3 separate regions of the Homo sapiens genome follow, and regions 2 and 3 are each linked to region 1. The links are contacts of gene promoters, found by promoter capture Hi-C in blood cells and fetal thymus (Javierre and others, 2016). All regions are on one chromosome and are shown on one strand. The core of a region is centred on a gene start or on the middle of the fragment in contact, and the rest is flanking DNA. Distances in the headings are between cores, read along the strand shown.

Region 1 (2,802 bases), core at 173-2,672:
ACTATTCACTGTTTAGATCACACTTTTTTTTTCTTAAGTATTTAAGTATACCAGTGAAAGGAATCCTTTCCCACCTTTCCCGGCCATAGTTAATAGCTTCCTCCATTGTACTCTCATAGTATGTTGAATGTGACATAATTATAGAACATACTGCCTCTATTGTGATTTTACATTCTGATTTTTTCCATTGGACCAAGAGTTCATTTGGGGCAGTAACTTACTCATATTTGTAACTGTGCCTTGCTTATGGTGAGCAATTTGGATTTTTTGAATGAAAGTGTAGTCTTATGGAGATGGAGAGTAGAAGGATGGTTAACAGACTGGGAAGGGTTGGCGGGGTGGGGAAGTGGGGATAGTTAATGGGTACAAAAAATAGAATAAGAAATAGTATAACTAGTATTTGATAGCACATCAGAGTAATTACAGCCAATAATATTGTATATTTTAAAGTAACTAAAAGAATATAACTGGATCGTTTGTAACACAAAGGACAAATGCTTGAGGTGATGGATATCCCATTTGTCCTGATGAGATTATTACTTATTGCATGCCTGTGTCAAAATATCTCAGGTGGCCCATAAATGTTCACACCTACTGTGTACCCACAAAAACTTAAAAAAAACCCAAACCACTAATAAATTAACCTGGAAAAACGTAGCTTTGTTCCTGAAGTAAGATTTTATCATATTCTTTGTAATTTTCAGTCTTCCCTGAGATGTAGCTCAGTGGTTCCTAGCTTTAGCTGCACATTAGAGTCACCTGCAGCTCTTTTCAAACTGTCGCTCCACAGCTGGGCCTCAGGCATCAATGTCGAAAGCTCTCCGGGTGATTCCAGCTTGCAGCCAGGGCCGTTCCAGCAACTCCAAGGCTGGCTGGTGTGCGCTGAAGCTGTCGGGAGTCGGACCAGCTGCACAGTTAATACATATGTGTCCTAGGCTCCTCTCTCCTTCCAACGCAAATATGTGTACAAACCCTGCCTGGAACCGCAGCCCTGCTCTCAGAATCAAATTCCTGAAAGTGGGCAAGCGGAAGCGGAAATAAGCCCTCTCCCAACGCCAGCTGACTCGATTTCGTCTCGGTCTTCCCCAGAGCTGGACACGAGGCACCATGATCAGAGAGACACATTCCCTGCGGACGGCGCTCCCATCGGATACTGGAGGGACGCGACACTAGAGGCAGGCAGTACTTCAGGGTGACCATAAGTCTCCCAAACAGCCACAACGGCTCGCTCTCCCAGCTAAGGCGACAGCGCTGCCATTTTGGATCCTGTTCAGCCACGGGAAGCCGGCGTTTGCACACATTTTCGGACGTCATATTAAAGCGCACCGGACGCCGAGACTTCTGGGAGATGAAGTCCTTGCGAAGGCCCCGCATTGATTGGGAGCGCAGTCGCCAGGACCCTGTGCGCAGGCGCGTTGGTTTCCCGACCTGAAGAGGCGCCGTCTTCCCGGGTCCCGAGCACTCTGTGCCGGAGGTGAGGGTTGTGGGTGTGTGTCTTCAAGGAGCGGAGTGAGCGCAGCAGCCGAGAGAGGGGACATGAGAACTTTGGGGAGGTGCTGTGGGAGCAAAACGGGGTGACACGGGCGAGGCCAGCCTGCAGAGCGTGTGTCGCGACGTCTCGGTGCGGACGGAAAGTTGTGCATCCACCCCCGTGTGTGCGTGTGTCCCGTGGGGTCTGGGCACCCATTGTATGTCGGTCCCGGACTTTAAGGTTGGAGGTTTGGAGTCTTCCTCCGCCTCTCCCGTTTCTTCTTCCCATAATGGGTGCTTAATGAACGTGGGTGGAATTGACACCAAATCTAGGATGCTGCCGCTCCGTCTTTGCCAGACAGCGCCTCAGATTGCCTCATTTAGCTCCCTGCCCTGGGCCTCCGCACGAGTGCTGGAGGGCTTCATGGAGGAGGTGGGATTTGACGTGAAAGAAAAACAACAACAACAAAACAAAAACCACGAAAGAAGCAGCTAAGCGTTAGGCAGATTTGAGCTGGAGATAGTTTTTACAGAAATGCAGGAACAGTGGTAGACAAGGTTGAAGAAAAGGTACGCTGGGAGCCAGGGCCCGGGACTCAGAGAATCAGGACAAGACTCAGTAGGCAAGGTGGCTTATATAGGTGTGATCCAGGGACTGACACGAATGAAACTATTTGGAGACAGTTATTCTAGAGGTCACATTCAGGACTAGAGAGGGGAAAGGACCAGTAGCAGAGAGCTACTTAGGAATGTATGGTAGTTTTGGAGTAAGATGTTGTGGACTTGAATTATGGTGGTGGTAGTGAAAGGGAAGGATACAGATGACACTGCAAAAGAAGAGTCAAAAGGGCCTGGTGACTAGATTTGGGAGGAAAGAGAGTGAGGTAAGAGTTTGAATTTGGGACACCTGGGAGAACAATAAAACATCTGATACAAATGTAAAGCCAGGAAGAGGCGTTGATGTGTGGAATTGCCTAAAGGAAGATAGTTTTGAGGTGATGGTGGAACGCCTGATTTAAGGTTTGCAGTCATTTGGAAATGCAGGATGAGTCTGGAAGAATGCAATACAGTTGTATTGTAAAATTACAATACAATTACAGGACATGGACATCTGTAGAGTTTGAAAATGGAGCCCTGAATGTGGATGGACTTTCTGAGGGATGGCAAAAACGAAGAAAGTACAAAGACTGAGCTATGGGCAGCATCCATGTTTCCAGGGCAAAAGTGGGGAAAAAGAGTCACAGAAAGACAGCAATTTTAGTGGTTGGAAGAAAAGCTAGTGCAGTATCATAGCAGTTACAGTAACCACTTGAATAAGCAGAAGCTTGTCCG
Region 2 (2,794 bases), core at 167-2,666, about 25 Mb after region 1:
GTTAAGGTAAGATGATCTCTTGAGCCCAGGAGTTGGAGACCAGCCTGACAACATAGCGAGACCTTGCCTCTAAACAAAAATTACATATTGTATGATTCTATTTATATGAAACATTCAATTTCTGGTGGAAGTCTCATATGATCTTTGGTTGGAGGATGACTGGATGTTGACAGATGACAATGAGGTGAAGAGCATTTTAGCAGAGGGAATGGCATGATCAAAGACAAAATGGAGAGTCAGAGGCAGGAATGCATATTTAGGGAGGAATGAATGAGCACTGGCTACAACAGAGATCTGGGAAGAAAAGCAAGTGAAGGAAGTAAAGCTGGAAACATGGATTGACAAGTTGCCTTTTTCAAATGGAAAAACTAACAGGTGTGAGGGAGAAGAGAGTCAATAGAAATTTCTGTCTTTTCCAGATTTGTTCACATTCCCCTGATTTGTAGTCATTTTGTCGGCTTGGGAAAGTGGTTTTTGAAAGATCGTCTTTATAAAGGTAGGCTCTGATAGGATGCTCAAGCTAAGAGCAAGGAAGGACAAAGAAGGCGCCTGGCGACAGAAAAGGGCACTAACAAAAATTGGGCAAAAAGGAAGTGTGGCGGTCCCCAAATCCCTTCTTCCTCCATTTCAGCTGAGATCATTCGCCAGTAGGCAACTGTGGTATTACCAATAAGTTTGTATCACCAATAAAATATTATAATGCACCTGGCTAAAAACCCTGGCGTGATAACACCAAATTCATGTTATTAGAAGGAATTAAATTTTAAAAAGCACACCGTTCCAGGCACACAGAAGGAGCCCCCGAACGTTTGTTTTATAAACGCAGGTTGGTTGCTGAGGCTTTGTTTTGGAGCCTACGTTTAGGAGAGGAAATGATTCAAAACTGCCCCCCAAAACCTATATCCTCCAGGAGCACTGAGGTTGGGGCGACCTGCTGCCAACTGGTCTGGTTTTCCCTTTTAACACACGCTTCTTGCCCACTATCCGGTCCCTGCGGTCAGTGGGTGCAGCAGGGGTCGCAGTCCAAACAACCAATCGCGACGCGGCTGCGGGGCGGGGGCCACAGCGCTCCGCCTCCCCCCTCCAATCCGCCCTCCCAATCCTCCTAGGCCGCTCTCTCTCGCACCTGCGTGTCCCTCTGCGCTCCGACTGGTGCGACTTCTCCCTGCGCTAGCGAGGCAGGGTTTTGGCCTCGCCTCTCGCGAGATCGCCTCCTGTTGCTGCCGCCGCCGCTCCTGGCCACTGACTGGCGGCGCCTGCGCAGCCGCCATGTTCGGTTGCTATGCTGCGGCCTAGGAGAGGGGGTGTGCTTGAGGGAGGAGGAAGAGATAGAGGAGGAGGAGGGGGAGGAAGAGGAGGTGGAGAAGGAGGGGGGTGACTGAGCTCCTCTTGCACTCTCACACACAAACGCTGCCCAGGATTACCCGCCAGCTCACGCCGCGCAGTGCGCTTTTCCGCTCCTCGCGCCCCACCACCAACATTGTTCTCTCAGGACTCCTGGGTCCCAGGGGCCGGAATTGGGCCTGAGCGGGAGAGGAAAGAGACTTGGCTTTGGCCGCGGGGTCGGAGGATTGGGGCCAGGCCCCCTCCCCCACGCACTTTTGGGGGTGTGGATTATCTCATCCCTGCAGGGAGGTAGGAGAGGTCGCCGGCTGCCCGCCTCCCTGCCACCTCCCCAGCGGCGCCGGCCCGCGGCTGCCCAGCAGCATGAGGTGGTGCTGGCGGCTCCGGGTCGTGGCGCGACCGCTGCGGCGGCGGCTGCTCGGGGGGCGCTGAGGTAGCCCCCCGGAGCGGCACGGAGGACGCGCTTCTCCTCTGCGCGCCGGGGCCTCGAGGCTTTTTTTCTCCAGCCGAGAGGACGCGGCTGTGATATACGAAGGTAAGAGGTTCTCCGGTCCCCGCCGGCCTCTCGGCCCTGCACGTTGAACGGGAGGCTCTTACCTGCATGTGTGGCTCCTGGGAGGTGAGCCAGGTGGGGCAAGCCGGAGGTACGAGGATGATTTGAAAGGAAGGAAAAAAGGACAAAAACAAACAAACAAACAAACAAAAAAACGCTTTCTTTCCTTTCTTCCTGGGACCTCTGCTTTTGCGGGGGTTATAGTTGGAATCTCTGTTATGGGTCAGCGAAGGGCCAAGGGATGGAATAGGTGCGGAGATGGAATGTTCCCAGTACCTAAACTCTAGGTAAAGCTTTGGAATCTTGAGTTTTCCATTGCTGGTAGAATTCCTTTTTTTTTTTTTTTTTTTTTTGGCTCATATGAGCGCTTCTTGCACGCTGCATGAGCCAACTATTCCTACCATTGAAGTTTTAAGCCTGTTATGATTCTACCAGTATATACCTGTATTTGGGAATCTGTAGTTGAGCCAAAAAAAAAAAAAAAAAAAAAGTTGAGATGTGGGTAAACAGTGATGCATTTCGCAGGGTTTCCATAAAATGGAACAGCTTACAGTTGCACAGGTGATGTGTGGATGTTTCTGCAAAACTTAGGGTGGAAGATTTTATGTCTGGGCTTGCATCATGTAGTGACATCAGTATGTACAAGGACGATTTGTAGGATTTTTCAAAACGCCTGTTCTAGGATAACTTGTTATGCATCTGCAATATGCCAGCTGCTTTTCGAATAAGAGGTTTCAGTAATACTAAGTTTCTGTGTCCAGATCTTGGGCCCAGTTGAAACAGTACAGCTGATTGGTCACATTTAAAACATATTTATGGAGAAAGATAAAAGGCCAATGTGTCCGACTTGCAAAAGACAATTAGAGTAGAAAGAAGACTGGAACAGTAAAAGCCAGG
Region 3 (2,700 bases), core at 201-2,700, about 77 Mb before region 1:
AAAAAAAGTCTGTGCAACCATCCACTTTTTTTCCTCTGAAATATTTTCAGTCCCTTGATTGAGTCCACGGATACAGAGGATGCACTGATAACTGTATTATTTCTTCCAACTTGCATAAGAAGAACTGAAACTTAAAGAGGTGGTACCAACCTGCTCAGAGTCACACAATTCTGGCTTTTTGTGATATAAATACACGCTTTTAGGCAATATACTAGTGGCCTCCAAACGTTTTGTACTTGCACCCATTAAGCAAAAGAAATTTGAAATACATGTTCCAACATAAAATTAATACCCTATGTTTCACGTAGAAATCAAATGAAATAAATCTAAATAGAAGTTCTAATATGTTCCCTCTCTACCCACACACCCATGGAACAAACTGCATGCCACTGTATATACTATTGTACATGTTAAAAGATCACACTGCAACCATATAAAAGTCAGGAGATTTGGGTTTTTCTTTTTTCCTTTGAATATATATTACTGAGAAGTTTGCCTTTAAAACACTGGCTTTTAATCTACTACTCGTGACATATGCAGAGTAATAAGCGCTCACAAAACTTCTGTCTTGAGGGCTCAAACACCAAATGATTGCTCTAAGAATTTTCACAGTATTACCTCAAACCCTATTGGTTCTACAACCTTTCTCTACCCTAGAGTCCTGTTTTCCGCAATTCCCAATTGGGATTCTTCTCCGGTTCATTTCTGTAAGAAATGAGGGCAGAGAAATGCCATCAGTAAACCTTTGAACACATGTTAATTTTTCTAGGTAATACAATTTGCATTTTCGTAAAACTGGGCTTTAATGACAAATCCGATTTCAGTGATCTTTGCATACACCCTTTAAACACACCAGTTGCCGCCTGCGAGATATCATCAGACTCATGCTAAGAGCCACTCCCTACCCCAGCTTTCCCCAGACCTCTCCCCGCTTTACAGTTATTCGCCACAGCCCGGGAGAGTCTGGGGACGGCCGCCTGGGAGGGGACGGCCGCCTGGGAGGGGACGGCCCGGAGCAGACGCCAGGTTTCCCGCGGCTCAGGAGACCGGTGCCGCCTCGGAGAGCGCGCGAAGGTGCCGCCGGCCGCCCGACCCGCCCGAGGAACGGACATCTCCCGCCCGGGCCCGCAAGGACGACCATGAACACCGCCGCAGCTCAGCTGACCCTGCCTCTCCCGGGTGGCTGGGGGTCGCCAGCCAAGGGGGCAGCGGGCGGAGGATGAACCCCGGAGCAAGGGAAAGCGACAGCGCGCGCCTTCACCCTACCGCCAACAAGTCGAAGTCTCCCAAAGGAACCTGATCGGCGGGGCTGCCGTGGTACGACCGGCCGCTAAGGCCACCCTGCGGGCGTCTCGACCTCGGCTGACCGCCGCTGGCCCCCTGGGAACCGCGTGCCGGCCGCAGGAGAAGGTAGATTCCCGGGAGCCCCGGCGCCCACCGCGGTACTAACCGCGCCTGCGCCCCGCCCTCCCTCCCTTCGGGCTCCGCCCGCGCCTGCGCAGTTGCGGGGTTTCGCGCCGCCGGAGTCTGAGAGGCCGGAAGTGCCCCTTAGCGGGTGGGGGAAGCTGGTAGGCACGGGCGGCTCCGCAGTGACCGGACTCGGGGGAGGTGAGTGATTTGCCTAAGTAAAAGGGAAAGATAATTGAGCGCCCCCGGCAGCTGGTCTACGCATGCGTCCGCTAGGCCGGCTGGGAGCCGGCAAGGGAAAGCCGAGCGGGCCCCATTGGGGGAAAGGGGTCAGTCACTTCCCGGAAGAGGCGGGGCCGCGCGGGCCCGGCGCTGGATTCGAAACGCTTCCTGGTGCTCCTGGGCCTGGCGGTTGAGCCCGGGGAGCTAGTCTTTGCTTGGGTAAAGAAAGAGGACTTTCCTTTTTTTTTTTCCTTTTGAGAAAATTCAGAAATTTGGAGGCACAGTAGTTAGGATTCAGGCCAAACTGGTAAATGACGAAGGGGCTTCTTCCAGAGCCAAGGAGGAAGGGTTGTCCGGGTAAGTCCCGCGGGACGTGGAGAGACGGCGCCGCCCGGGTCCTCCCACTGATTCCTTTGACCATCTGGCTTACGGACGAGCTCTTTGTTCGCTGCTCCTCCGAAAACGCCTTCAATGACTCCCTTTGAATAAAGTAGGAAGTCCGAACCGAGCCGCCAGGCCGCGACTTGGCCCCTGTTTTCCACTCGCGAGGGCCCTGCGTCACCCCGCCTCGGGAAAGCTGCGCGTTCTCCGGCCGCTTGCGCTTGGCCGAAGCTGCTGGGTCCCGCTGTGCTTCCCCCGGGCATGCGATGGGGATAATTCCCACGCCTCGCTCAAAGCCATCCCGGGAGAGCCCTCCCTGGTCCCCATAGGCACAGTTGGGTGTTCCCTTTTCCGTGTTAACCTTGTATTTCGGATATAGTTCTGTTATAGTAATTACTTTAAGGTATTGTAGTTATTTACAATCAGTCTTTCCCCCACGGTAACCTAGAGTGTAAACCCCCTAAATAAACGTCAGAAGTAATGAAGTCTTAACTTCCTTGGCTTAGGTTTCAGCGCCCTTCTCAACCCCACACTCCCGCTTCAGTCTTTACACAACCCTTCCCATGAATATGCTGACCTAACAAGTAACCTACTTTTCATACTCCAAAATCTTCTCTTCTGTGTGGGGAAAATAATGCATTGACTGCCACCTCACTCCACCTCCAAATAAATTGATGTTGAAATTCTGGC

The links. Contacts are between HindIII fragments. The CHiCAGO score rates a contact against its expected background, and 5 or more counts as called.
Region 2: a contact is called between the fragment with the promoter of PTPN4 here and the fragment with the promoter of ZNF2 in region 1, in 1 of 17 cell types (total B cells). The highest score is 7.9, in total B cells.
Region 3: the fragment with the promoter of SMC6 here is called in contact with the fragment with the promoter of ZNF2 in region 1 in 1 of 17 cell types (naive CD8 T cells); the score reaches 8.1 in naive CD8 T cells.

Annotation. Positions count from the first base shown.
Region 1 is chr2:95,164,387-95,167,188 of GRCh38, forward strand. ZNF2 (zinc finger protein 2) reads left to right here and starts at 1,423. Exons shown (of 5, transcript NM_021088.4): 1 at 1,423-1,474. RefSeq lists enhancers at 411-1,047, 1,048-1,682, 1,110-1,539. The HindIII fragment of the contact is 3,796 bases long and covers 1-2,792 here.
Region 2 is chr2:119,758,506-119,761,299 of GRCh38, forward strand. PTPN4 (protein tyrosine phosphatase non-receptor type 4) reads left to right here and starts at 1,417. Exons shown (of 27, transcript NM_002830.4): 1 at 1,417-1,879. LOC101927764 (a long non-coding RNA gene) reads right to left here and starts at 1,209. Exons shown (of 4, transcript XR_007087215.1): 1 at 1,127-1,209. RefSeq lists silencers at 959-1,068, 1,619-1,918 and enhancers at 1,108-1,402, 1,119-1,378, 1,649-2,273. The HindIII fragment of the contact is 4,728 bases long and covers 1-2,188 here.
Region 3 is chr2:17,752,360-17,755,059 of GRCh38, forward strand. SMC6 (structural maintenance of chromosomes 6) reads right to left here and starts at 1,451. Exons shown (of 28, transcript NM_001142286.2): 1 at 1,267-1,451; 2 at 619-705. GEN1 (GEN1 Holliday junction 5' flap endonuclease) reads left to right here and starts at 1,779. Exons shown (of 14, transcript NM_001130009.3): 1 at 1,779-1,986. RefSeq lists silencers at 927-1,286, 1,427-1,566. The HindIII fragment of the contact is 9,742 bases long and covers 1-2,700 here.